Regions from separate parts of the Homo sapiens genome. Here all the other regions are linked to region 2. Evidence: promoter capture Hi-C in 16 types of primary human blood cells and fetal thymus (Javierre and others, 2016). All regions are on one chromosome and are shown on one strand. Each heading gives the region's core, a stretch centred on a gene start or on the middle of the fragment in contact. The rest is flanking DNA. Distances are from core to core; before and after follow the strand shown.

Region 1 (2,700 bases), core at 97-2,596, 430 kb before region 2:
AGTGGATCTAAGAAATAAGGGGGAGGAAGGCCTGTCTCCTGATAAGAAAATTTGGTCATTAAAAGCGTGATTACAATCATGTATACTAAGAACTTTACTAAAAGCTGGAGATATGCTCAACAAGACAAACACCATCCCCTCACTTAAGAACAATCTATTGGGTAAAAAAGCAGATAGGAAATTACAATAAAGTAGAAGTACAACAATAAGAAAAACATAGAAATGAAGAAACCCAGAAGGACTAAAAAAAAACTATAAGAGCAACAACTTTCAAACAAATTTCCTTGACACTAACAAGTCAAGTAAAATGAGAACCTGAAGTTTTTTCAGACTAGGCAATCAGAAAATTACTGCAGATCTTTACCAGACAATCACTAAAGGTTTTTACCAGAAATTTCAACTGAGTAGGGAAGACGCCTAATGTAGTATGATCAACATGAAGTGCTTAAGGGCGGTTAAGTTACTAAAAATTAGCAATATGTAAAATGAAAGGCTACTAAAATAAAATATTAGAGACTGCTTAACATACTGTCTCCTGGGAACCTTTCTATAATAGTGGCAATATTGTCTTTCCTTACAGTTACGTATGTGCTTACTACTGAAGTTTTCAAAATTAACAATGCATTGTTTAGGGATACATGCATGGGTGATGATACATAAAGAAAATCAAAGGAATGAATAATCCAAATAAGAGAATAGTGGTTGCATCTAGGAGTGTACGGTTCAAATGGGCAGGAGCTCACATAGAGATCCTGAAGTTTTGAAAAATGTTCTTTCTTGACCTGGGTTAATAGGTAACTGGATGTTAATCATTATTTTTTTAAACCACAAGTGCATTTTGGCCATTTTTCTGTGTAAAATACATTTCATAAAAATGTTTAATGTACATGAATCTGAGATAAGATACAAATCAATCCAAATCTAGTTGTTTAAAAGAAATGAGACTCAAACAGAACTGCACTGCACCTGGTTTCATTTTTACATGACATTTTAGAATAAAAATTTCAAACTCTAAGTCTATCCCTTAGATAGCAAAGAAAAAACAGGTTGTAGTTTGCAAATACATTACTGAAAAGGATTTTCTATAGTTTTTCAAATCATTTCAGTTGCAAAATCAGTAAGAGAAAAATCTCCAACTTATTTTTTACTCAAAAAAATGAAAATTCTTAGAATGATTTTAAATAACATAAGCTGAAGTTCATGAAGTCATCTCCCAGATGAGAGCTTACGTGTGCCAAACAGATTTTAAGGCAAATGCTGTAGTTCTGATACTTGGCAATTCACTTTAAAAACACATGTGCACATACACACACACACATCCCCCCAAATACCTTATCATATAGTTCCCAAAACAATTTCCATTTCAATTATGAAAATTCTGTATTTAGGAATAAGTATTGCTTACCTGTTCCCTACTGAATCTTGAGAGATCTGAAAGTTTGGAATGATAGAAGAAACACCATATTCATCCTGATACTTCTTACAAGATTTGTAATGATGTCTCATGCGATAGAATTTAATCTGTAAATTATTAAAATGTGACTTTTAATTTAAAATAGAACTCGTAAGATTTGAAATAGTGTAAAGAGAGGAAAAAATAAAAGTAACTAAATACTCCATTTAAACAGGAGTTGTATTTTTTTAAAGTAAATGATTTCATCCTTAAGTAGGAGTTAAGAATAGATAATACATTTCTGTTCATTAAATGTAGAGATGGAGAAGAGTCCATCTGTCTATAAATTCACTGCAAAAAACAGCAAATAACTTCACACTTGAAAAGACACTACCAGCAGTAGACAAAAAAATTAAAAGCACTAAGAGGATGCCAGATGCTATTGGGCATGTCTTATTATTTAACTTCTGCAGCCTGGCAGAGTTAGAAAGCACTTAAAAAAAAATTAAGTTCCTGGCTGGGTGCAGTGGCTCGCGCTTGTAATCCCAGCCTTTTGGGAGGCTGGGATGGGTGGACTGCTTGAGTTCAGGGGTTCAAGACCAGCCTGAGCAATATGGCAAAATCCTGTTTATACAAAAAATACAAAAATTAGCCAGGTGTAATCTCAGCTACCTGTGGGGCTGAGGCAGGAGGATTGCTTAGAGCCTGGGAAGTCAAAGCTGCAGTGAGCCGAGATTGTGCCACTGTACTCCAGCCTGGGTGACAAAGTGAGACCCTGTCTCAAAAAAAATTAAGTTGCCAGGAATACTTGGAACATTTTTCAGTTTCTCACTGAGAGGAATAGCCAGAATCTCTCGAGTGTGTTTTCCAGCTTCACGTCATTGCCCTGTCAGTTAAACACTTCCTTCAAAAAGATGTAAAAGCAGATCTGACTTGTGTGAATGCATGAAATAGCAACCAGCTTTGCTCACTGAATTCATTAGCTATTAGAAAAAATGTCGGTGATAAATCTATAGACACATGGATATACTCAAAGCCTAACCACCCCTCTCTATTTTATTCCTTCTCCAAATGATAGAATAAAATCCAGATTAGAGAATTAATGCTGGTTATTTGTTAACACCTGATTTTCCTACATGTTCCTTAAAATTAACCAAATATTTTGTGATTTCTTTCTTCTTCTTTTTTTTTAGACAGCGTTTCGCTCTTGTTGCCCAGTTTGGAGTGCAATGGCGCAATCTCAGCTCACCGCAACCTCTGCCGCCCAGGTTCAAACAATTCTGCCTCAGCCTCCCAAGTAGCTGGGA
Region 2 (2,700 bases), core at 179-2,678:
GCTGAGGCGCTCAAGGGCCTATTGGCTGCCCAGAAGCCTTTGCAGCGCCGCCTGAATACAGCGAGGATGACCCAGGGTTCACCTTCAGCGTTGAAGGCAAGTCCTGGTATAAGGGACGCACATAGGTCCGCGCCACATCCTGACACTGTTTCCACAGGAAGTGCGGGATAGGAGGGGGGATTCATTAATCCAGGTCGGAAATACACCTTGTTCCTCGAGGATTTTGGAAGGAAATTCCACCCGCGAAGTCCCCTTTTGGAGATGCCCTTTTCCTTTCAGGTACAGCATCCTTCATTATGTACCCCCAGGGTACAATGTATCCGGGGCTCGCAACGCGTCCCTCAACCCCCAGCAGCGCGGTCACCGCGGGGTCCCCGGGCGGGCGGGGGCGGCGGTGACGCAGGAGGCGGTGGGGCCCCGGTGCGGCGGGCGCGGGGAGGGGGCTGCTGGGCGCGGGCCTATCAGGACGCGCGGTGTTTCGGGCGCGGGGAGGGCGGGGACCTCCAGGTTTCCTCGGGGCCCGGCGCAGCGCCGCCTGCCGAGTTCCGAGCGAGCGCGCGAAGCGCGCAGGGGTCTCGAGACGTTCCCGCCGGTCCCGGTTTTCCTCCGCGGCTCCCCCGCCCCTTCACGTCCGCCTCTTTCTCCAACCAGACGCGGCTCCGACGGCGCTCGGCCTCTGCTCTTCCGGCTCCCCGGCTCTGCCCGCAGCGCGCGTCGCCCGGTTGCTCTTCGCCTGGTGTCCGCGGGCCCGGCGGGGGCGCCTCACCCCGGGCGCGCGGCGGTAATGCCGCTGCCGCCCTTGCGGCCAGGCAGGCAGCTGGCGGCGGCCGGAGTCGGAGCGCGTTCGTCGCTGGCCGGGACGCCGCCCTGGCCTGTGCTCAGCTCCCGCGGCGGCCGCGGGGCGCCGGGGCCCGGCGCGGCATGAGGAGGCGGCTCGGTGCAGGCGAGCGCCCAGCTCCTCGGCCCCGAGGGCCCCCGCGGGCCCCCGCGCGTGGCGCGCGCTGGTTGCGGCCCCGGCGCCCACGCTAGCCCCGCGCAGGCAGGAGACGCCGCGGCCCGGAGTAGGAGGCGGCGCAGGGCCTGCCGAGCGGACGCGGGCGGCCCGGACCTTAAGCACGGGGCTTCGCGGCGGGACCCCGCCGGGCGCGGGCAGCGGAGCCGGGCGTGCTGCAGTTAGCTGCCCCTCTCCGCAGGGGCGCCGCGGCGCGCAGCCTGCGCCTCCTCCCACCTGCAGCCCCTCCTCCCGCCGCTGCTTGGCGGAGAAAACGCTCCTCCTCGCCCTTCCCCGGCTTTCTTCCGTCCTGCCGTCCCCGGGCCCCTAGCCCCCAGTCCCCTCTCCCCCCTCCACCTCTTGTCCCTCGGCCTCCGCGCCTCCCCTCCCCCGACTCTCTGGCCTCCCATTCATTCCGTCCGCTCCCTCCCATTTCCTCTTTTCCGCTCGGGCCCTCTCCCCAGAGCCTCCCCGCGCGGACCCCGCTGCAGTCTCGGGGTTCTCAGCACATTTATGGAAGTTTAGGGCCTGGACAGTGGCCCCGAGTCCGGCCTGAGAGCGCAGCCTGGGCTGCTGGCAGGGAAGAGGAAGATGTCTGTGCTCAGGCGGATGATGCGGGTTTCCAATCGCTCTCTCCTCGCCTTCATCTTCTTCTTCTCCCTCTCTTCGTCCTGTCTGTACTTCATCTATGTGGCCCCAGGCATCGGTAAGCACCGAGACACACCCTCGCTTCCCCTGGTCACACCACAGCCAGCGCAGGCTGTTATCCGATGTTACTTCTGGGATTTGGAAGCTGTTCAAACAGGGGCCCGCAGAAAAGCGTTTTGTTTTAAATGTTATTTCAGACGTGTCAAACTGCTTCAGGGCATGGCTTTGGTATGTGAGTTTTGTTAATGCATGCATTTTGTTAATGCATGTTTGTTAATAACGTAAAAGATTGCATTAAATAGACGTAGCAAAATTAGTGTGATGGCCCGGGATGCCCTAGTCGCTTTCTTGAGTGTTCATGACAGCTTTATCCATTTAATGTTAAGTCTTTAAGCCTAAACTGAGTGCTTAATCGTAGTTTTATTCAAACACTCTCGGGTATAATAACTGGTTGTAAAAATATGGAGGAGCCAGCAGCAGGGAATGTGATTGAGTCCAACAATGTGTGTTTTCTAGGGTCCTAGGTCGCTTTTTTAGAATGGGGTCAGTGGACCCCATTCTTTTTGTGCCATACTTGGGGAATTTTAAGGCGATGAGTTGTCTTGTAAAAACAATGCTCCATTATTTTAGTCTGCTTGGGTGTTATTTTCAAGGGTACGTTGCCTTTGCTACCTGTTAGGATGACTTCTGAGAAAATAGTGATTAAAATAACCGTTATCTAAGGGAACTTGTAGTTTAAAATGTTAACCGGTTTATCATTTTTTGGCCTTTGGTGCAAAATACACTTTTGTAAAACTGCTTGAATTAACTTCTTTATTAAATATCCGAATTCCTCGTCCCCCATTTGTTGAAAAGGAGCCAATGCGGCGTTAATTCTAGTGAATGAGAATTATGAACTTCACATGCATATTAAAATATGTCATATTTCCAAAACTTTTCTGAGTTTTTCCTGGCTATTACGTATTTAATGTTCAATTACTTAGTAACAGTGAGCATCTCCTCTCATTTCTCCTTACACACTGTGGTCGTTTGAGCCAGTGCTCTTTGTTCCGAGTTAGCTA
Region 3 (2,790 bases), core at 229-2,728, 390 kb before region 2:
GCTATATCCTACAGGAAGGATATTCACCTATCTAATGACAGTGACAATCAAAAAGTGCCACTATTTAACCGTTATTAGACTTTATTACGTCCCACTCCTTTTTTTGTCATTATGAATGGTGTTGCAATAAATTTTATCCTGCATATAGATTCCATTTTGGATTAGAGTGCCAGGAAATATTTCCAGATGTAGAATTACTGGGCCAAGAGGTAAGATATTACTATCAACTTGCTTTGAAATGTGTAAGTTATACCGCTATCACCAGCACAATATGCCAGTTTCACCATATCATCCTTTCATGGGGGATTATTAATTGAGAAATTTTGCTAATAGACTGAATCAAAAAATATTTATTGGAGGCTGGGCCTGGTAGCTCACGCCTGTAATCTCAGCACTTTGGGAGGCTGAGGTGGGAGGGTCACTTGAGCCCAGGAGTTTGCAGCCAGCTTAGGCAACATAGTGAGACCCTGTCTCTACAAAAAATTTTAAAAATTAGCTAGATGTGGTGGTGTGTGCCTATAGTCCCAGCTACTCAGGAGGCTGAGGTAGGAGGATCACTTGGACCTGGGAGGTCAAGGCTGCAGTGAGCCATGTCACACCACTGCACTCCAGCCTGGGTGAGAGGGTGAAACCATGTCTCTAAAAAAAAAAAAAATTATTAGAGGTTACACTATGCCAGACATTATGCTAAGAGAGAAAAATGGTACATGACTAGAGTGGTCAAGTTAATGTCTTTGATTACTGGTAATATTATGATTTTTTTCTTCTTTCAAAAATGGGGTTTTACGGCCCGGCGAGGTGGCTCACACCTGTAATCCCAGCAATTTGGGAGGCCGAGGTGGGCGGATCACTTGAGGTCAGGAGTTCGAGACCAGCCTGGCCAACAAGGTGAAACACTGCCTCTGCTAAAATACAAAAATTAGCTGAGCGTAGTGATACATGCCTGTAATCCCAGCTACTCAGGAGGCTGAGGTAGGAGAATCGCTTGAACCCGGGAGGCAGAGGTTGCATTGAGCTGAGATCACACCACTGCACTCTAGCCTGGGCAACAGAGCAAGACTCCGTCTTAAGTGTTGGGATTACATGTCTCAAAAAAAAAAAAAAAAAAAAAAATGGGGAGAGGGGTTGCTATGTCGCCCAGGCTGGAATGCAGTGGCTATTCACAGGCACTATCATAGTGCACTATAGCCTCAAATTCCTGAACTCCTGGGCCAAGCAATCCTTCTACTTCATGCTGGATGTTTTATATGTGTGTTATCATCACACACTGATGATGTATATGTGTATATATCATCAGTAGGTCTCATGATAGATTAGACAGCTGAAATATTTACTAAGTACTTGACATGTGCCATTGTTTTAGATTTTGGAGAATTTAGTGGTGAATACTTGCAATCCAAAATTTATATTCTAGAGAGAGGAAATAACCAATAAAAATGAAAATAAATGTATAAGATAACTTCTCATTCTAGTACAGTTATGGAGACATTACAGTAAAACAATAGACAGATTTGGTGGAGGAGTGACTTTGGCTGGAATTACAAGGTAATTCCTTTATGAGAAGATGACATTTGAGCTGACAGTTGAATGATTTAGAAGGCAGTCATGTCAAACTCCCAGCGAAGAGCTTTTCAAACAGAAGGAATAGAAAGTGCCAAGATGCAGGACCCACTGTAAGTTTGGTGTGTTTAATAAACCTAACAGTGTGGCCGAAGTATAAGGATCAAGGGAGAGAGTGGAGTGAGATGAAGTTGGAGAGTGGGCAGGGACCAGGTTGTGAAGGGCTTTCATTGAAGGGCATGGAAAGGCCTTTAGAATTTATTCTCATAATAATGGAGGCCGGGCGTGTTGGCTCACACCTGTAATCTCAACACTTTGAGAAGCCAAAGCAAGAGAATGGCTGGAGTCCAAGAGACCAACCTGGGCAACATAGTGAGACCTCCATTTCTACAAAAATTTTACAAATTAGCCCAGCATGGTAGTGCATGTCTATGATCCCAGCTACTAGGGAGGGTGAGGTGGGAGGATGGCTCAAGCCCAAAAGGTCGAGGTTGCAGTGAGCTGTAATCATACCACTGCACTCAGCCTGGAAGACAGAGTGAGACCCTGTTTCAAAAAAAAAACAAAAAAACAACCAAAAAAAACCTCTTTCCACAATCTTTCCATGTCACCACAATGGTGCGCATAAATGTCCTGGCTGATGCTCTCAAGAGCATCAACAATGCCAAAAAGAGAGGCAAACACCAGGTTCTTATTGGGCCATGCTCCAAAGTCATCATCCGGTTTCTAACTGTGATAATGAAGCATGGTTACATTGGCGAGTCTGAAATCATTGATGATCAGAGCTGGGAAGATTGTGAACCTCACAGGCAGGCTAAACAAGTGTAGAGTGATTAGCCCCAGATTTGACGTGCAACTCAAAGATCTAGAAAAATGGCAGAATAATCTGCTCCCATCCTGCCAGTTTGGTTTCATTGTACTGACAACCTCAGCTGGCATCATGGACCATGAAGAAGCAAAGACGAAAACACACAGGAGGGAAAATCCTAGGATTCTTTTCTAGAGATGTAATATATATTTACAAATAAAATGACTCGTGGACATACACACACAAACAACAACAACAAAGAAAACAATGGAGGCCCTGGGAGCATTTTAAGCAGTGAAAAGGTGGCATGGCACAATCAGATTGATGCTTTTAAAGATCTCTCCAACTGCTGTATGAGGAATGGACCTTTTTTTTTTTTTTTTTTTGAGATGGAGTTTAGCTCTTGTTGCCCAGGCTAGAGT
Region 4 (2,700 bases), core at 83-2,582, 340 kb before region 2:
GTGATCCGCCTGCCTCGGCCTCCCAAAGTGCTGGGATTATAGGTGTGAGCCACTGTGCCCAGCAATAAAGCTAGTTTTAAATTGTTAGTTGGCTGGGTGTGGTGGCTCATGCCTGTAATCCCAGCAGTTTGGGAGTGCTCATGCCTGTAATCCCAGCTCTTTGAGAGGCTAAGGCAGGAGGATCACTTGAGCCTAGGAATTCAAGATTGGCCTGGGCAACATAGGCAGACCCTGTCTCTATAAAAAAATAAAATTTTAGCAGGGTGTGGTGGGGCATGCCTGTTGTTCCAGCTACTCAGGAGGTTGAGGTAGGAGGATTGCTTGAGCCCAGGAATTTGAGGTTGCAGTAGGCTATGATCACATCACTGAGTAGTTTGTTCTTAGATCATATCTCTAAAAACAAACAAATAAAACTACTAGAAATAAGACAAACAATTCTTCAGGCAGAATATACCAAAAAAGCAAGATATGTTCTTGGAGAGAAAGGTTGTAAGAATGGCATGAGGCCGGGTGTGGTGGTGCACGCCTGTAATCCCAGCTACTCAGGAGGCTGAGGCAGGAGAACCTGGGAGGCAGAGGTTGCAATGAGCCAAGATCATGCCACTGCACGCCAGCCTGGGTGACACAGTGAGACTCCATCTTAAAAAAAAAAAGAAAAAAAAAAAAAAAAGAATGGCATGAAGTGTGATTTTTTTGTTAATGGAAAACGAATTGTGTCTAGTTTAGAAGTTATTTGAAGCTTGTTTCAAATTGAAAGAATAAAAAAAGATATAGATAAAACTAAATGAATATAGAAAGTTGGAAATAGAAGAAAAATCGTAAGAGGTTATAAAAGATATGTAAATCTTGTGTGGTCAAAGCTGACTGAAATTGGATGGACTTGTTTATTAGGTTTTATTTAAATTTATTATTGATATACTGATTCAAAAGTAAAATATGGTTTTCTCTTTTGAACAAGACTTTTGTGTAGTAGAGATGGGGTCTCACTATGTTGCCCAGGCTAGTCACAAACTGCTGGTCTCAAGCCATCCTCCTGCATCGGCCTTCCAAAGTCCTGGGATTACAGGCATGAGCCACTGCACCTGGCCAAGTATACTTTTGTGAGCAAAATAATTTACCTTTTTCTCTTTGGATTCACAAACTGGGTTTTGAGTATTCCTATTTCATGGCAATATAGTTACATGCATAAGTTCAGTAACAGTCTGAACAGGACATAATTGGAGACAGTGGTTATTTTAGCAAGGCTTTAACTGGAATGTCATACTTAGATACATGATCAAACTGTTTTGAGGGACTGAAATTGACATTAAAAAGCCAACAGACTTAGAAAAAGATTGGCCTGGTACCCTGTGTATATGGTTCCCTTACAAAATCCTGACCTTGCGGTATGTAAAGAATTGTCACTTTCTTGGCTGGGTGCAGTGGCTCACTCCTGTAATTCCAGCACTTTGGGAGGCCGAGGCAGGCAAATCACCTGAGCTCAGGGGTTCAAGACCAGCCTGGGCAAAATGGCGAAACCCTGCCTCTACAAAAAATACAAAAACTAGCCAGGTGTGGTGGTGCATGTCTGTAATCCCAGCTACTAGAGTGGCTGAGGCGGGACAGTCACTTGAACCTGGGAGGCAGAGGTTGCAGCGAGCTGAGATCACGCCACTGCCCTCCAGCCTAGGTGACAGAGTGAGACTCCATCTCAAAATAAACAAATAAGTGAAAAATAGCCAGGCATGGTGGCAGGCACTTATAGTCCCAGCTACGTGAGAGGCTGAGGCAGGAGGATTGCTGAGCCCAGGAGGTGGAGGCTGCAGTGAGCCATGATTGCACCACTACACTGCAGCCTGGGTGGCAGAGTGAGATCTCACCGCTAAAAATAAATAAATAAATAATAAAAATAAAGGAAATGTTTAATGTTTTAAAAATTAAGCTTTAAATGGGGGACTAAAGGAAACTGAAAATATTTCACCCCAAAATGTACTTCTTTGATATATTCCCACAGGAATAACCCTGAAAAGCTGCCTTTTGTGGAGGAGACTTGCATCTGTAGAGAAAATCTACACTGGTGAAATAAACAACCAGGCTTTCTTGGAGGCACCCCCTTATCTGTACCTAGGAAATTATTAACTGAAAGTCTGACACCTACGAAGGTCTGACAGAGCAACTTAACACAGGCTCATGCCTATTCTTTCTAGGAGCTGCTATCTATGAAGTTTCATCTGCATAACTAGACCATCTTTGCCCCAGCCCCTTCTTTCTTTCTCCCTCCCATAACCATGTTCCAAGCCCCTACTCTGCTGTAACCTCAAGATGGTATAAAAGCATCAAGCATCTGGCCCTTTCTCTCAGTTTTCATATTTTGTATGACTCCCATGCCCATATGCTCATTAATACATTTGTAAGCTTTTCCCCCCTTGTTAATCTATTAGCAGTTTGTTTCATAGACTCAAATGATCAAAACTTTAGGGGAAAAAAATCAAATTCAAATTTCCCTAAAGTGGTCACACATCTGGCTAGTGGCAGAGGTGAATTTCAAATCCAGCTCTCTGTAAGGGCCAGTTACTACTGCATCACAATACAACTTATAAAGTGCTCTTACATATTCATTCAAGGTACTGTTGTTATTATTAAACTTGTTTGACTTGAAATAGGTTTACAAACAAAAATCAGCATAAACCACCTAGTTCAACATGTCTGAAAATGTAGCTT

Evidence for each region. Contacts are between HindIII fragments. The CHiCAGO score rates a contact against its expected background, and 5 or more counts as called.
Region 1: a contact is called between a fragment that was not itself captured here and the fragment with the promoter of B4GALT6 in region 2, in 1 of 17 cell types (erythroblasts). The highest score is 5.1, in erythroblasts.
Region 3: a fragment that was not itself captured here is called in contact with the fragment with the promoter of B4GALT6 in region 2 in 1 of 17 cell types (fetal thymus); the score reaches 6.9 in fetal thymus.
Region 4: a contact is called between a fragment that was not itself captured here and the fragment with the promoter of B4GALT6 in region 2, in 2 of 17 cell types (erythroblasts and fetal thymus). The highest score is 6.7, in erythroblasts.

The regions. Positions count from the first base shown.
Region 1 is chr18:32,112,566-32,115,265 of GRCh38, reverse strand. It overlaps RNF138 (ring finger protein 138), which reads right to left. Exons shown (of 8, transcript NM_016271.5): 4 at 1,406-1,521. Among named protein-coding and RNA genes, the nearest start is that of RNF138, 22 kb to the right of the region's middle. The HindIII fragment of the contact is 5,185 bases long and covers 1-2,700 here.
Region 2 is chr18:31,683,309-31,686,008 of GRCh38, reverse strand. It overlaps B4GALT6 (beta-1,4-galactosyltransferase 6), which reads left to right and starts at 1,428. Exons shown (of 9, transcript NM_004775.5): 1 at 1,428-1,697. The coding sequence starts at 1,583. RefSeq lists a silencer at 292-1,331. The HindIII fragment of the contact is 10,803 bases long and covers 1-2,700 here.
Region 3 is chr18:32,075,658-32,078,447 of GRCh38, reverse strand. It overlaps a transcript of RNF125 not described here and the pseudogene RPS15AP35. Among named protein-coding and RNA genes, the nearest start is that of RNF138, 15 kb to the left of the region's middle. The HindIII fragment of the contact is 9,029 bases long and covers 1-2,790 here.
Region 4 is chr18:32,022,163-32,024,862 of GRCh38, reverse strand. All of the region lies in intron 1 of RNF125 (ring finger protein 125), which reads right to left. Among named protein-coding and RNA genes, the nearest start is that of RNF125, 4.7 kb to the right of the region's middle. The HindIII fragment of the contact is 1,182 bases long and covers 742-1,923 here.